Linked DNA regions of Homo sapiens: region 1 is linked to region 2. The links are contacts of gene promoters, found by promoter capture Hi-C in human tissues and cell types (Jung and others, 2019). All regions are on one chromosome and are shown on one strand. The core of a region is centred on a gene start or on the middle of the fragment in contact, and the rest is flanking DNA. Distances in the headings are between cores, read along the strand shown. Region 1 has its middle 6.4 kb from the start of CER1. Region 2 holds the start of ZDHHC21 (zDHHC palmitoyltransferase 21).

What was found. Contacts are between HindIII fragments. The study calls those that stand out against the background at their distance.
Region 1: a fragment that was not itself captured here is called in contact with the fragment with the promoter of ZDHHC21 in region 2 in 1 of the 25 tissues and cell types used here (lymphoblastoid cells).

Annotation. Positions count from the first base shown.
Region 1 is chr9:14,725,718-14,732,600 of GRCh38, forward strand. No RefSeq gene overlaps it. Among named protein-coding and RNA genes, the nearest start is that of CER1, 6.4 kb to the left of the region's middle. The HindIII fragment of the contact is 4,002 bases long and covers 2,001-6,002 here.
Region 2 is chr9:14,692,182-14,698,700 of GRCh38, forward strand. It overlaps ZDHHC21 (zDHHC palmitoyltransferase 21), which reads right to left and starts at 1,251. Exons shown (of 10, transcript NM_178566.6): 1 at 1,048-1,251. RefSeq lists silencers at 893-1,032, 1,113-1,182 and an enhancer at 1,256-1,756. The HindIII fragment of the contact is 8,706 bases long and covers 1-5,827 here.

The DNA.
Region 1 (6,883 bases), core at 2,752-5,251, 36 kb after region 2:
CTTCCTGGGCCAACCCTAGACATGCATGAGAACCAGAGGGGCCAATCCCAGAATCCATTCATTTCCATTTACAGTTCAGGCTTTCAGCAGAATCTGACTGTTTTCAACTTGACTTGGGTTTCTTAGGCACTAAGATGTCTTCAGGAACTCTAAAGACCTCGAGAAGATACTTAAATAAAAAATGTTTTCATATGCTGGTGACACTTTTATAAAATGGACAAGAAAAGAGGCCCATGAGACCCAGCCGCTCAAGACACGTTGAGGTGGTTTGTCTCCTTTTCAGACCTCCCCAGTGTGCCTATGAGAGGACAGCAACAGCTACATTTTCTGTCCCTCTTACAGACTCTCAGAAGACAGTTAAAAAGAAGCCCAGTGCTCTCCAAGGGCGAACAGAGAGACTAAGTTCTTCCCTAAAAACCTATCTTAAATCAACAAAAGGTGAGAGGCAGTGTTGAGGTGGGGGGTGGACATTACAGTTAAACAGGACAACTGAGAGCTGGAAAAGGACATTTGGGTTGAAGGATTCAGGAGAGAAATCTGACTGGGGAGCATGCCACTGCCTCATCACTACCTCTCTTTTCAAAATACAGAATAGCAATCATGTCATGGCAGGTTAGATTATTTTTTTTTTAACTCAGAAGAAAACAGGACCTTTTTTCTTATTTTCCAAGGAACAAGGAAAAGGGAAAATTAGGATATATGATTTCCCCTTAAACTTTTAAATAAACAATTTACTTAATTATTCAAAATGTACACTCCCTCCTCCCCTTTCCATGGAAAAGACACGTGAGGAAGAGCCCCATTCCCTGAAGCTGCTCCTTTAACTGGACTAATTCTTTCATTCTTACAGCGCACACCTGAGTGCCAGCTCTGTTCTAGGAACTGGAGATAAGTGTTGAGAGTGTCTTTGTTCAGTTTCAGGTCTAGTGGATTTTGCAATCTATAGGGACAGCCTAGTATATTCAAAATAAGTTTTACAGGGAAAATTTAGGCCAGGCATGGTGGCTCATGCCTGTAATCCCAGCACTTTGGGAGGCGAAGGTGGGCAGATCACCTGAGGTCCAGAGTTCGAGACCAGCCTGGCTAACATGGTGAAATCCTGTCTCCACTAAAAATACAAAAATTAGCTGGGCATGGTGGCTGGTGCCTGTAATCCCAGCTGCTTTGGAGCCTGAGGCAGGAGAATTGCTTGAACTTGGGAAGTGGAGGTTGCAGTGAGCCAAGATCATGCCACTGCACTCTAGCCTGGGCGACAAAGGGAGACTTCATCTCAAAAAAAAAAAAAGAAAGAAAGAAAGAAACAAAATTTAGGCAGGCATCATTCCTGTACTAATCAGGGACTTTCAAGTAGAGCCAAATCCCAAAGATGCAGTGAACTGTATGCTTTATTTGTGCTAATTTTATTCAATAATAAATATTTGTTGAATTCAAGGAAGCACTGTAGACATGGTGCAGTACATTTCTTTTATTTTTGAGTAGGTAATAAATACGCATAGTAACAAAATTCAAATAACACACAAAAAAATGCACAACGAAAGGTTGATCTTCCTCTGACTCCACCCCAGGCTGCCTGTCCTTGCCATGGAGAGAACCATTATTATCAGTTTCTTTATTCAATCTTTTAAAACTGTCACCCAAAGATACCAAAATGTGTGACCAGTGGAAAAGGACAAATATCAAATGGTGTAACTGCCAACAAAAAAATCCCCATTTCCACTTCAAGGCACTGATGGTTAGATTGTCTTTTAAAGATTAGATTATTCTGTTTGTAGTTTCGGTGATCTCACTGCCCTCTGTTCAAAACACCCTCCAACACCATTGAGAAATAGTTTTCTGTATTCTGGGTATTTTGTTTTTTGCATCTGAAGATGTATCTACTACTGTGCACAAGTCATGGACAATATCTACATGTGTCTAATCATCTCCCTACCAAGACTGCAGAGAGGGCTCCTGCAAATCTGAGAATTAGGCCAAGGCAGCCTGAGCTGTCCCTCACCATGTGCCCCACCTTCCTACCTGTCCATCCATCTCCAATGCCTGTGCCTATACTTAGAGCCAGTTCAGGATGCAGTCACTGATGCAACATCTCTGTCCTGCTCCTTCTTCCTCATCTTTAAAATTTACCTTGTCTGTTTTTCCTTCTGTAGAAAGCTGATCTCAGAGCTAAGTAATGTCAGTGGAACTATCTCTGGACTTGAGGCCAAAAAAACTAAATCTGATTCCTCGAACTGCATTACAGCTTGTAAACTCTATGGCATCAGGCACTTAACTTTATGTCCCTGAATGTCTGTAGAGGCAATATTACTTGCCCTGTCTTCCTCATTTAGTCCACGGTCCTTCTTTTCACCCTGAATCTTACTATCATCCTGGGTGACTTCAGTGTCCATGTGGTTGGGTTTGACCATTAGCATTTCATCAGTATCCCATGGAAGTCCCATTCGATACCCTGGCTGAAATCTGACTGCTCTCATGCCAATTGGCCTCCCTACCCCGATTACATTCTGACCCCTGTTACTATCAAGAACAGCTCTACCTCTAAACTGTGAATTCACATTCCACTCTCTCATAACAATATTGTGTTGTTTCAGTTCCTACAGCATCTGTCCCGTACTTTATCTCTATCATAGTACTACCACCTTTGTCATGAAATAATTTTTGACTGAACATTTAACATCTGCCTCCACTTAAGATTTTTTTTTTTTTTTTTTTGAGACAGAGTCTCGCTCTGTTGCCCAGGCTGGAGTGCAGCGGTGCAATCTCGGCTCACTGCAAGCTCCGCCTCCAGGATTCACGCCATTCGCCTGCCTCAGCCTCCCGAGTAGTTGGGACTACAGGCGCCTGCCACCACGCCCGGCTAATTTTTTTGTATTTTTAGTAGAGACGAGGTTGCACCGTGTTAGCCAGGATGGTCTTGATCTCCTGACCTTGTGATCTACCCGTCTTGGCCTCCCAAAGTGCTGGGATCACAGGCGTGAGCCACCGCGCCCGGCCCAGATTTTAAAGTCCATAAAAGTGGGGTCTTTTTAGTCATCAGCTCAGGCTGTAGCACAGCCTTTCACATAGTAAATGCCCTAAAATATTCATGTAATAATAAATGAATAATGTAATTAATTGATTAACATATATAAATTCTTTGTCTTCATTTTCTTCCCTATCCCACTTTAATTCCATGGTCCATCACTTCAAACTTTTGCAATATTTTCCCTAGTCCCTTTTTTATTCTCTCACACACATCTAATAAAAGTCCAACACTGGGCCCGGACGTGGTGACTCACGCCTGTCATCCCAGCACTTTGGGAGACCGAGGGAGGCGGATCACCTGAGTTCAGGACTTCGAGACCAGCCTGGCCAACATGGTGAAACCCTGTCTCTACTAAAAATACAAAAATTAGCCAGGCACAGTGGAGCCCGCCTGTAATCCTGGCCACTTGGGAGGGTGAGGCATGAGAATCGCTTGAGCCCAGGAGGCTGAGGCTGCAGTGAGCCGAGATTGTGCCACTGCACTCCAGCCTGTGCGACAGGGCGAGAGTCTTTCTAAAACAACAACAACAACAAAAAGTCCAACCCTGAAAACACCCAGCTGTTCATCTTAACTGGGCCCACGCCTGGGATAGGGAGTGCTTTTAGAGACACAGACAAAATGGGCAAAAATGGATTCTATACAAATTTCCTTCTGTCTCAACGGAACCCTCAACTCTGCTCACCAATCCTTCTCATTCCTCTATTCAACTCACTTTTCATTTTCCATGTGGGTTAGTGAAAATCTTCTCTAATTACCTAAAACCTTTGACTGCTCTGCCTCTTTCCTCGTTTTTGATAGATGACCCCTTTTTCTGCAGAGAAAGATAGAACCCATCAGATAAGTGAGTCTCCTTACATTTGACCATCAAACCACACCAGTTCGTTTCTCCTTTCCACACTGCTGTTGGAATCACATCCTTTCCAACCACTTTACTCCATAGTCTACCCTGAATGGTCAAACTTTTGCACTCCACTGGATGCTTTTATATAATGTTTGATCATTTCAAATTTTCTTGATTCCATAGAAGTTTTCAGGTTCTGTACTTCAGTGTTGTCTTCTGCGTTTTCCAGTCAAATATTGGCAAGCTTTCTCCCAATCCAACCTCTACTTTCTCACATCCACTTCTGGATTTACAAGGGAGACATCTCCTCCATGTCACTGAGATGTATTTGGGACTCTGAAAAGCCAAGTTCCTTCTTGATTCGGCTATTCGGTGATTCCTCGGGCTTGTCTTAATTTGGGTACATGCATATCTTTCTAACAAGGAAGAGAGGATCCTCAAGGGCAGGGATTATGTTTGCTGGAGACTACATTGTCAGCAACTTTGAGAAAAGGGATTTTGTTTAATGCATTTTTCTGTTTCTTTTCCATTCCTGGTCCCTCAGTCTACATTTAGGAGGTGAATGGATGTTTGTTTTGACATACTGAGTCCAATAAAAATGCGAAAGGAAACTTCTGACATAGGCCCTTGTTGTGTTTTACTTTCTAAGAAGTATCGCTTTGTCCTGGATAACTTATACTTAATTCTCTGTGTTTAGATTCTATTTTAAAATCAAATTTCCATGGAATCTGGGACTAAACCATTCTTCATTTCCCAGCCTGGCCACAGTCTCAGAGCAGGCCTTAGAACATTGTCACACCAGCCACAGTTCCCAGGCATGTCTCCCCTGAAGGATAATCACACTCCTAAAAAAGGTAATTCATGCCAGAGGACTATATGTCTGTTGGGTAACTTTATGCAGCTTGTAAATTGTTTTACTCCAGTTGGAGCATGGGGGTGGTGTATCACCAACAGAAATGAGTGTAGGGGGCATCTGTCTGAAAACTGTTCCCCCACTGGCCACCTTGCCAGTTTCTGCTTATACAATGCAGGCAGCTTGGGGGAACCATATTGTCCCTATAAGCTCATAACACATGGACAAATGATTAAAAACACATGGAAAACAGTTCCACAGCTAAGCTAAAATTCAGATGGGAATGGAAAATCAACTTGCAAAGCTTTCAACTGACTCAGGGCCAAATGTAGGACAGAATGTGAGGAGAAGTTGCCAAAAGAGAGGAAAGTTGGGGAAAAAAGCAAGTCATGGATAGGAAACCTAAAACAATGACGCCTTGTATTGACAACGCTTCTCTAAGGCTCTCCAAGAGTAGTACCAAATTCAACTCTTCGGAAATATTAAGACCTTCACTTCATGAAAGAGTTTAGACAGATTTATATTTTCTACCCTCTATACACAAGAGTTGGCTTGACTATCTTGGCAACACCTAGGCAGAAACATAATCTTAAGTATCTTAAGTAACATAAATATTAAAAGATTACACATTTTTCCTCCGAGGTGTGGGAATTAAGTAACAAGGTGGCATGAGGCAAACTGTGAAAAATTGTGACAATAAAATGAAAAGCAAAGCACAATTTTCCGGTCAGGGTTTGCCTTCTGTTGTACCTGATGCTGGGCCCAGGTTTGCCATCAAGCTGGCAGGCCTTAGTCACATTCGCAAAAGTTCAACTTGGTTCAAATCTTAAACTCTAAGAAGCCTGTTATTTGTGTCTAGTCACTAAAATCACCTCAGTGATTCTACTGGGTAGGAAATCTATAAGCAAGAAAATAATTTACTGGGAGCCAGTCCCTGCTGGGCCATTCTGTGTAGCTTCTGCCCTGAATCCTTACTGACTCCCACATACGCTGAACCACCTTTCTCTCTGATGAGCAGCACTTAGACCTTCAAATGTTGATTTGGGGCATGATTTGCAAACAGTCCTCCTCAATATATGCAACAAATGTGTTCTTTCAATGCTGAATGTAAAAGGAAGTTTTGAAAATATGGCTCCATGGAGGAGCTATGCTCTTTGGGCAATAGAAAATATCACCCAAGTCCAATCCATTAACAAAGCAAATAGGATCATCCTTTCTGTCAAGTGAAAAACTATTCCCTAATTTATCTCTCTTTAGAATGAGATTTGTGTATCATTGATCACATCTGAAAGCAAGATGTCCTGGGGTTTTAGAAAGGACTCCCTTAGTCATGTGGATTCCTCTGAGAACTGAAAACACATGTTGAACACAAATGTCCTAGCACACAGGAAAGTTCTCACTTGTGATATGGCAACTTAAAACCCTAATTCTCCCACCCCCAGCTCCTCCTTCCTGCTGGGGTTGGTTACTGGTGAGAACAAGCACTGCTTGAAGTTGTCACCCTATTCCAAGTGTGGTCAATACTATTCCATTGTAGTCAAAAAACATATTTTGTATGACTTGAATCCTTTAAAATTTATGGAGACTTATTTTATGTCCCAGAATATGGTCTGCCTAGTAAATATGTCATGTGCACTTGAAAATAATGTACATTCTGCTGTTGTTGGATAGAATATGCTATAAATTTCAATTAAGTTAACTTTGTTAATAGTGTCCATGCTTCTATACTCTGATTTTTCTGTCTACTTATTCCCTCAATTATTGAGAAAGAGGTATTGACATTTCTGACTGTAAGTATAGATTTATCTATTTTTCTTTGAAGTTCTACCACATTTTGCTTCGTGCATTTTAAAACTTTGTTATTAGTAGGCAGGGCGCAGTGGCTCACACCTGAAATCCCAGCACCTTGGGAGGCCAAGGTAGGCGCATCACCTGAGGTCAGGAGTTCACCAGCCTGGCCAACACGGTGAAACCCTGTCTCTTCTAAAAATACAAAAATTAGCCAGGCATGGTGGCGGGTGCCTGTAATCCCAGCTACTCAGGGGGCTGAGGCAGAATAATTGCTTGAACCCAGGAGGCAGAGGTTGCAGTGAGCCAAGACCACACCGCTGCATTCCAGCCTGGGGCAACAAGAGCAAAACTCCATCTCAGAAGAACAAACAACAAA
Region 2 (6,519 bases), core at 1-2,500:
AATCTAAAGAGTTGGAAGAATTTAATATTACACCAAAAGCCTTTTAATCCAGGAATGGCGCATACTAAGCAGTCATCAAATGGTGACTGTTATTAATATTATTCTTACCACAAGGAAAGCAGTGAATTTTTAAAAGTGCATATATTAGCATAGTAGGCTGAGGACCTATTTAACACATCTTTTTAAATTGCACTTAATTATCCTTAGTCGCCTTTGGACTGTAACTTTACAATATAATTTATGACCCGCCCACAATGACCTTGATTTTTTTTTCTCTTCTACTTTTAGAGACTGCTATATTGCAATATTTTAAAGTAATAATTGGTCATGTCCTCTCAGCCCTGGTGATACAGACATCCACCCTGACTCTCAAGGGATCTTAAAATGTGACCCACATATAGCTTGAAAAAGACCGTAACTTAAATGGACTCTGCAGTTACAATCCAGCGACCTGTTACAGTGAACAGTAACAAGTGCAAACTGCTGCCATCCATAAGCCATTTTCCGAAAACCTCTTTGGATCAAGAGGAGAGGAGTGAGAAGGTCAATAAAGGAGCAAACTGTTTGTCCTCTCTGCAGCTTCACACCAGAAGTCTGGAATGAATGAAAAGCTCTGGAATAGCACAGAGAAACCCGGGATCCCAGTGCAGGTCTCCAGACGGGGGTGCGGGGAGAGAAACTGTAGTTTACAAGCGAGAAACTCAGGATACAGATTTAAAATAAATAAATAAATAACTAGCCAACATCGTCTCGACTAGAGCAGGAACCCCCCACCCCCAGTTGAGGGAGGAGCACTTAGCAAGGGGCTGTAGCTCTAGCAGAAGACGCTCTGAAAAAGGCCAGGCCTGGGGCGGGGAGGCACCGAGAAACCCCCGGGTTCCAAACAGAGCAGGTGCAGGGGGCGTGCAGGAACAGGTGAGGGCGTCCCGGCGCGGAGGAGCGGCGGGCGGGCCCGGCAGAGCGGAGCGGGGGCCGGGGATGGGGGTGGGGGTGCGGATGGGGATGGGGGTGGGGGCGGCCGCTTCGCCCCCGCGCCTGCACACTCACCGTCGCCGCTGGCTCGCCTCTCGCTGCCGCCGCTCTCCCGACCGCCAGCAGCTCTTTCCCCTCCTCCTGCCGCGCCACCTCCGCCTCCTCCGGCGCCGCCGCCCAGGCCGGGCCGCTCTCCCCTTCCGCTTCCGGGAGCCTGAGGGCCTGGACCGGCCGAGTGGGTGTCCGCATGCCCGCGCGCCCGCGTGGGGAGGGACGACTGCCGCCGTCGCCGTCTCGCTTAGCTCCCGGGAGCCGCGATGGGAGCCGCTGAGGGCCGAAACTCCTGCAATCGCGCCGCAGCCCCAGAGCCGCGGACCCAGGCAGACCGCACTCTCCAGAGCGCTTGCACCTGGCGCGCCTGGGCGCCTCTGCCCCTCCCCAGCCCTACTTGAGCCGTCCTTCTCATTGTCCCCATATCCTCACTGCTCACCTCTCCCGAGAGACAGGATGGGGGCCTTAGCTTAAAAGATTGCATGTATCCTTTCTTCGGGGGATGTGGCCAGCAGGCCTCTCTCCCCGCAGGTGTTCTGGGATGTCCCATGGTACCTTGCTTCAAAGCGCGGTCTGCAGCATCAGCATCCTCTGGGAACTCACAATCTTTGAAATGCACAATTTCAGGCCTGCTGAATCAGTACATGCACTTCAGCAAGATCACCAGGTGACTCCTGGGGTGCACCGTAAAGATGGAAAAGCATTGCACTGTAGTGCATGGTCTCGTCCACTTCAGACCCTCTATTGGGTTGCCTCAGACATCCCAGGATATTTCCTGTTCCTGTCCTCAACCTAAATCCACACCCAAACAATCTTTTCTTATATTTTGGGAGACCTCCAAAAGTTTCCTGCTTTCCCATCCCTGCAAAAGCCGACAACTTTTGGACTCAGCGATGCAAGTAATCCACCTCTCAGTCTAACTTGGTATCTTCACCAAACACCAGAGATCTACTAACTTTCCCACCTCACTCCGGCTGAACAGTATTTGGGGAAGGTTAAACCGTTTGCAGTAATGTGGAGCTAGATCTTTCTGCCCACGTGCCACAGGAGGAGACAGTGTGTTGGTGGAAGAAATATTACCTGTTGTATAAAATCTGTATTCCTTATAAGATGTGCTTAAAAGCCCTCCACAGACACATCCCTACCTACCTCTCCAGTCTTAGCTCCAACTAATTTGGTTCATTTCCCCATTCTAGAATGCCCTGCTCTCTGATGATCTTAACCCTATCCAGATTTGAGAGTGGAAATCTTGCCAAACCAGAGTTCTCTCACCACTGCCCTTATATAGTGCACATTGTTGCCTGTTTGGGGCCTCATATTACCTTGTATTGCTAAGGATTTTTAAACATGTTGTGTCCTGGTTTCTGAACTAATTATAAACACCTTGTGACCTTAAAAACTTTGGTCAGTGGTTATCAAAGTGGGATCCCTAGACCAGCAGCATCGGTATCACCTGTCAACTTGTGAGAAATCCATATTCTTTTGCCCCATCCCAGATCTACTGTAGTAGAAACTGTTTAGGTGTAGCCCAGCAATCCGTGATGTAACAAGCCTTTTAGGTGATCCTAATACACACTCAAGTTTTAGAATTACTGACCTAGATTACTAGATATTCCCAAAAGAACCCAGTGGTAGGAATTGATTTACCCATAAGCAGATTTTATTGCCTTTCAGGTTAACAAATACACTCCCCGATATATGCATAGCGAGGTTGAAAGACTAGTCACGATTGCTTTTGATAGAATTACCTTTATTTTTCATAAATCATTTGATGTAGTAGGATTTTTGTAACTTTCTCTGTTTGAAAAGAAGGAGATATTTCATATAAACAATCACTTTGAAGGAAGAGGAAATGTGGAATCCTCCCACCGGAATCCAGCTACCTGATTGCGTATTCAATGTGAATCCCTTCTACCCAAATCCAGCTACCTGATTGCATATTAAATGTGGACTCCTCCCTACCCGAATCCAGCTACCAGAATTGCATATTAAATGTAAAATCCCCCCCCCACCCAAATCCAGCTACCCAATTGCATATTAAAAGTAGAATCCCCTCCACCTGAATCCAGCTACATGAATTGCATATTATTTTGCTTTCTCTTCAGATACCCCTGTGAGAGGGAATAATTTGTGACAAGTGATCTCAAAACTGCCAAAATAAGAATTAGTTGACAGGTCCATGATTGCACATGACAATTGGAAGTGCATGGATTTTTCAGTCCCTTTTTAAAATAAGTTAGCCTGTCTTTTATCAGCCAAATCAATTCCACAGAGAATTTTTAAGCAAGGGAATAGGAGAGAAGAGGCAGGAGAAACATCCTTAAAAACATGAACCTTTTTAGCATGGGCATTTCATGAGTATAATCAAAGGCCTGCCTATCCCTTACACTGAAGGTCAAGTCATCTGGTTCTATCATTCATGCTAATCATTGGTTATATTGTATTGCAACCCATACATTCAGGCACCTGGGTAACAATAAGGGGGTGAGGGAGATGTGGCATCAGGTAATCTTTTGAAAAGATTTTCTATTTACTGGGTATATTATGGAAAGACGATATAGATCGTACCATATTTTTTCCCTCCAGAATTCTAATCTACTTCATGGGGCCTGGGACAAACTGAAATGTGATTATTAATCAAACTAATATTTATCTGGAAGTAGAAAAAGTAGACAAGGACAAGTAGCATTGCTGCCACTGCCAACCAAGCTTCTAACAAAGGCACACTCAGGGCATTTATGAGGGTAAACACAGCCAACTCCTGTGCTTCTGTGCCGTGACTAGGGAGGATCTGGATTTTAGTGCAATTTCCAAAAATCAGTGCAGTCCAGAGTTTAATCAGTACTGGCTAATAGCCCTTGGCAGCTTTGGATGGATGGCATTCTCCACCTGCCCAGCTGGGTACCATGCCTTAAGCACCCATATTTGATGCACATTCATGATTTCTTGGTTGCCTATAGTTGTCTCTCCCATCTGTTTGAGTGGCAGAGTGCCTGTGCCATAACAATCTAATATTCTAAAAGTTGTTCTTAACCTCTTCTCTTTTGGGTTACACATCTCTTTGAGTATCTGATGAAAGTTGTGGACCCCAGCAAAGTACACATATACACAAATACACACACACACACACACACACACACATATATACACACACACATACAGGAACATATATATTTATATATATGAAATTTATATATATGAAGTTTCACAAGTTGCCCCACCTTCCTATGCCTCCAAAGGATCACAGCGAAGCCAGGAACTTCAGGCTAAGAAATATCCCTAGAATGTAGAGAGTAGGTAAAATAAACATTTTTCCCCAAATATCAAGGAAAACTGCAAAACAAACAAACAAAAACGACTGTGTGCTTAGGAGAAAAAAACAATAGCAGTGCTAAACAGAGTTACAAGGAAAGTTTTATGGAAGTGCTAATGAAGAAACTAGTAATTTCCATGGGATAGTTCAAGGGTGGCTTCTTGGAGAATGGTTCCTGTATCAGGCAAGTGAGAATAGGATTTTGATTGGGGGAAAGGAGGGAAAGAAATTTCAGGACAGAGGAAAGTGTAAGCAAAAACATAGAGAAATGAAAGTGCAAGAATCCCTCTGGTGTGGCTCAAAGGTAGGATACATGGAAAGAGAGAGGGCTGGAAATGTGGAACAGATTCCAAGCATGGTGAGCCTCAGAAACAATGCTATTCCCAATGAAGAGTCCTTAGGCTTTTGGCAAAAGGTGATGACCTGCTCCAAGCTGGAAAAGACTATTAGTGAGGGCAGTGGTATTATCAAAAGGCAGAGTAGTGGGGCATCTGGAAAGGTTCTAAGTATACTACATTGGAACCTGTTAGGCCACATTGCTTTACCTCAACTTTGGATTGTTTGATGGTGGCTCTAGAAGTTTCTATTCAATTAAATCATGATGAACCTGAGATTCTTACACTTGGTTAAGTGCTAGTAGGAAAACGCATCCTAGTGAATGTTCTGATGAGTTGAGTCTAGGATGCTGAAAGAGTTAAAATCTCTTTTGGATTAAAAGAGTGAGAATCAATTTGGACTGAAAAGAGAAAAGAAGCCCTGCCACTAATCAGACAAGGAGGACAGACACAGATAAAGCCAGCTGCAAAATTAGCAGGAAACACTTTCTGCCAAGGTCATGCAGCAGTTATAAAGTGCCATAATGATCCCCTCTTTAGGTGATTGCTGACTTCTCACCAATGATGCCCCTGACTGCTGGCTATTTTCATTTATTACTAGAGATACCCAATTGCTCAGCCATCATCCCCTCATGACAGCATCCAATCCTGGCTAAATCTCTCTTTTCCTAATCCCACCTCAAAACAACCAATCCAAAATGGATACCTGCTTCCCTTAGATGCTCCTCAAAATTCTTCAATGGAAGTTCAATTTACAAAAGATGCCTCCTTCCTCCCTCTTGCCTAGGAGTGACATCTCTCTATGCAAGGCAATAAATATGAGTTTGTCAGGCTACAGGTGTAATCCTCTAGGTTTTAACAACTCATTTGATGATGAAAGTTTTCCACTCCCCAGGACTCAAAGTCAAGAAAGAGTCTCCCTTTCCGTGTCAATAGCACAATAAAGTAGCTTCCATTACAAGTAATAAGGCTCATAAGTTCACACAGGGACTCTTCCAATATGGGAGGAAGCAAGGCTTTGACTAGGTCATCCTCATCCCTCATCTTTTGAAGAAATGTGGATTGATGTAGAAAGCAGAGGAAACAGGTGCTTTCTAAAAAAAAATTGTGAGTAGAGTCTATTCACAACAGCTTAATTTAAGTAAATAGAATTAACAGAGTCCCAAGATAATAGGGAAGTAAAATGGGTATAGAAAAGTGATTTAAAAAGTCCTTCCCTATCAAAATATAAATAACATATTAAAAGTAGGACAATTTTGATGGTGCCAACCTCTTTGCATGAAGGACGGAGATTGAGATTTTTGTTGAGAGAGTTCATTATAAAGAAAATAGCAAAAAGGAAACAAATGTCCTAGCAATAGATAAATAAAGTGGGCGTCTATGGCTGAACTAGGGAAGCAAGTTCAAGGTTGCAATATGGCTTCAGGGAATCTCTGCCAGCAGGAACAATTGAGAATGTAAGAGTGGATTTGGTCACCAAGAAATGGGATGCAGTAGGAGAAGAGAGCGAAGGGCAGAAACAACCACAGTACCTTTAAGGATCAGATAGAGAAAGAAATGATTCAAGAATCTCCTATGTTTCAACTACTTCCAAGTCAATATATCCAGCCCTGCACTCTATTGGGCTCCAGAGCCATAAATTCTAGAAGCCCCACTACACACTTGTTATGATGGCTCAAATGGGTGCGAAGTCTGTAGGACCAGTCATGAAAAATAAGAGAGTACTGCTGTTCTCACACATATCAGGTTAAGGTTCTGTGTCTCCCTTCCTCTAAGAGACTACTTCTTGTTTGTTTGCAAGGAAAATAAAAAATATCTACTAATCTCTTGGATAGTGCCCCTTTTATT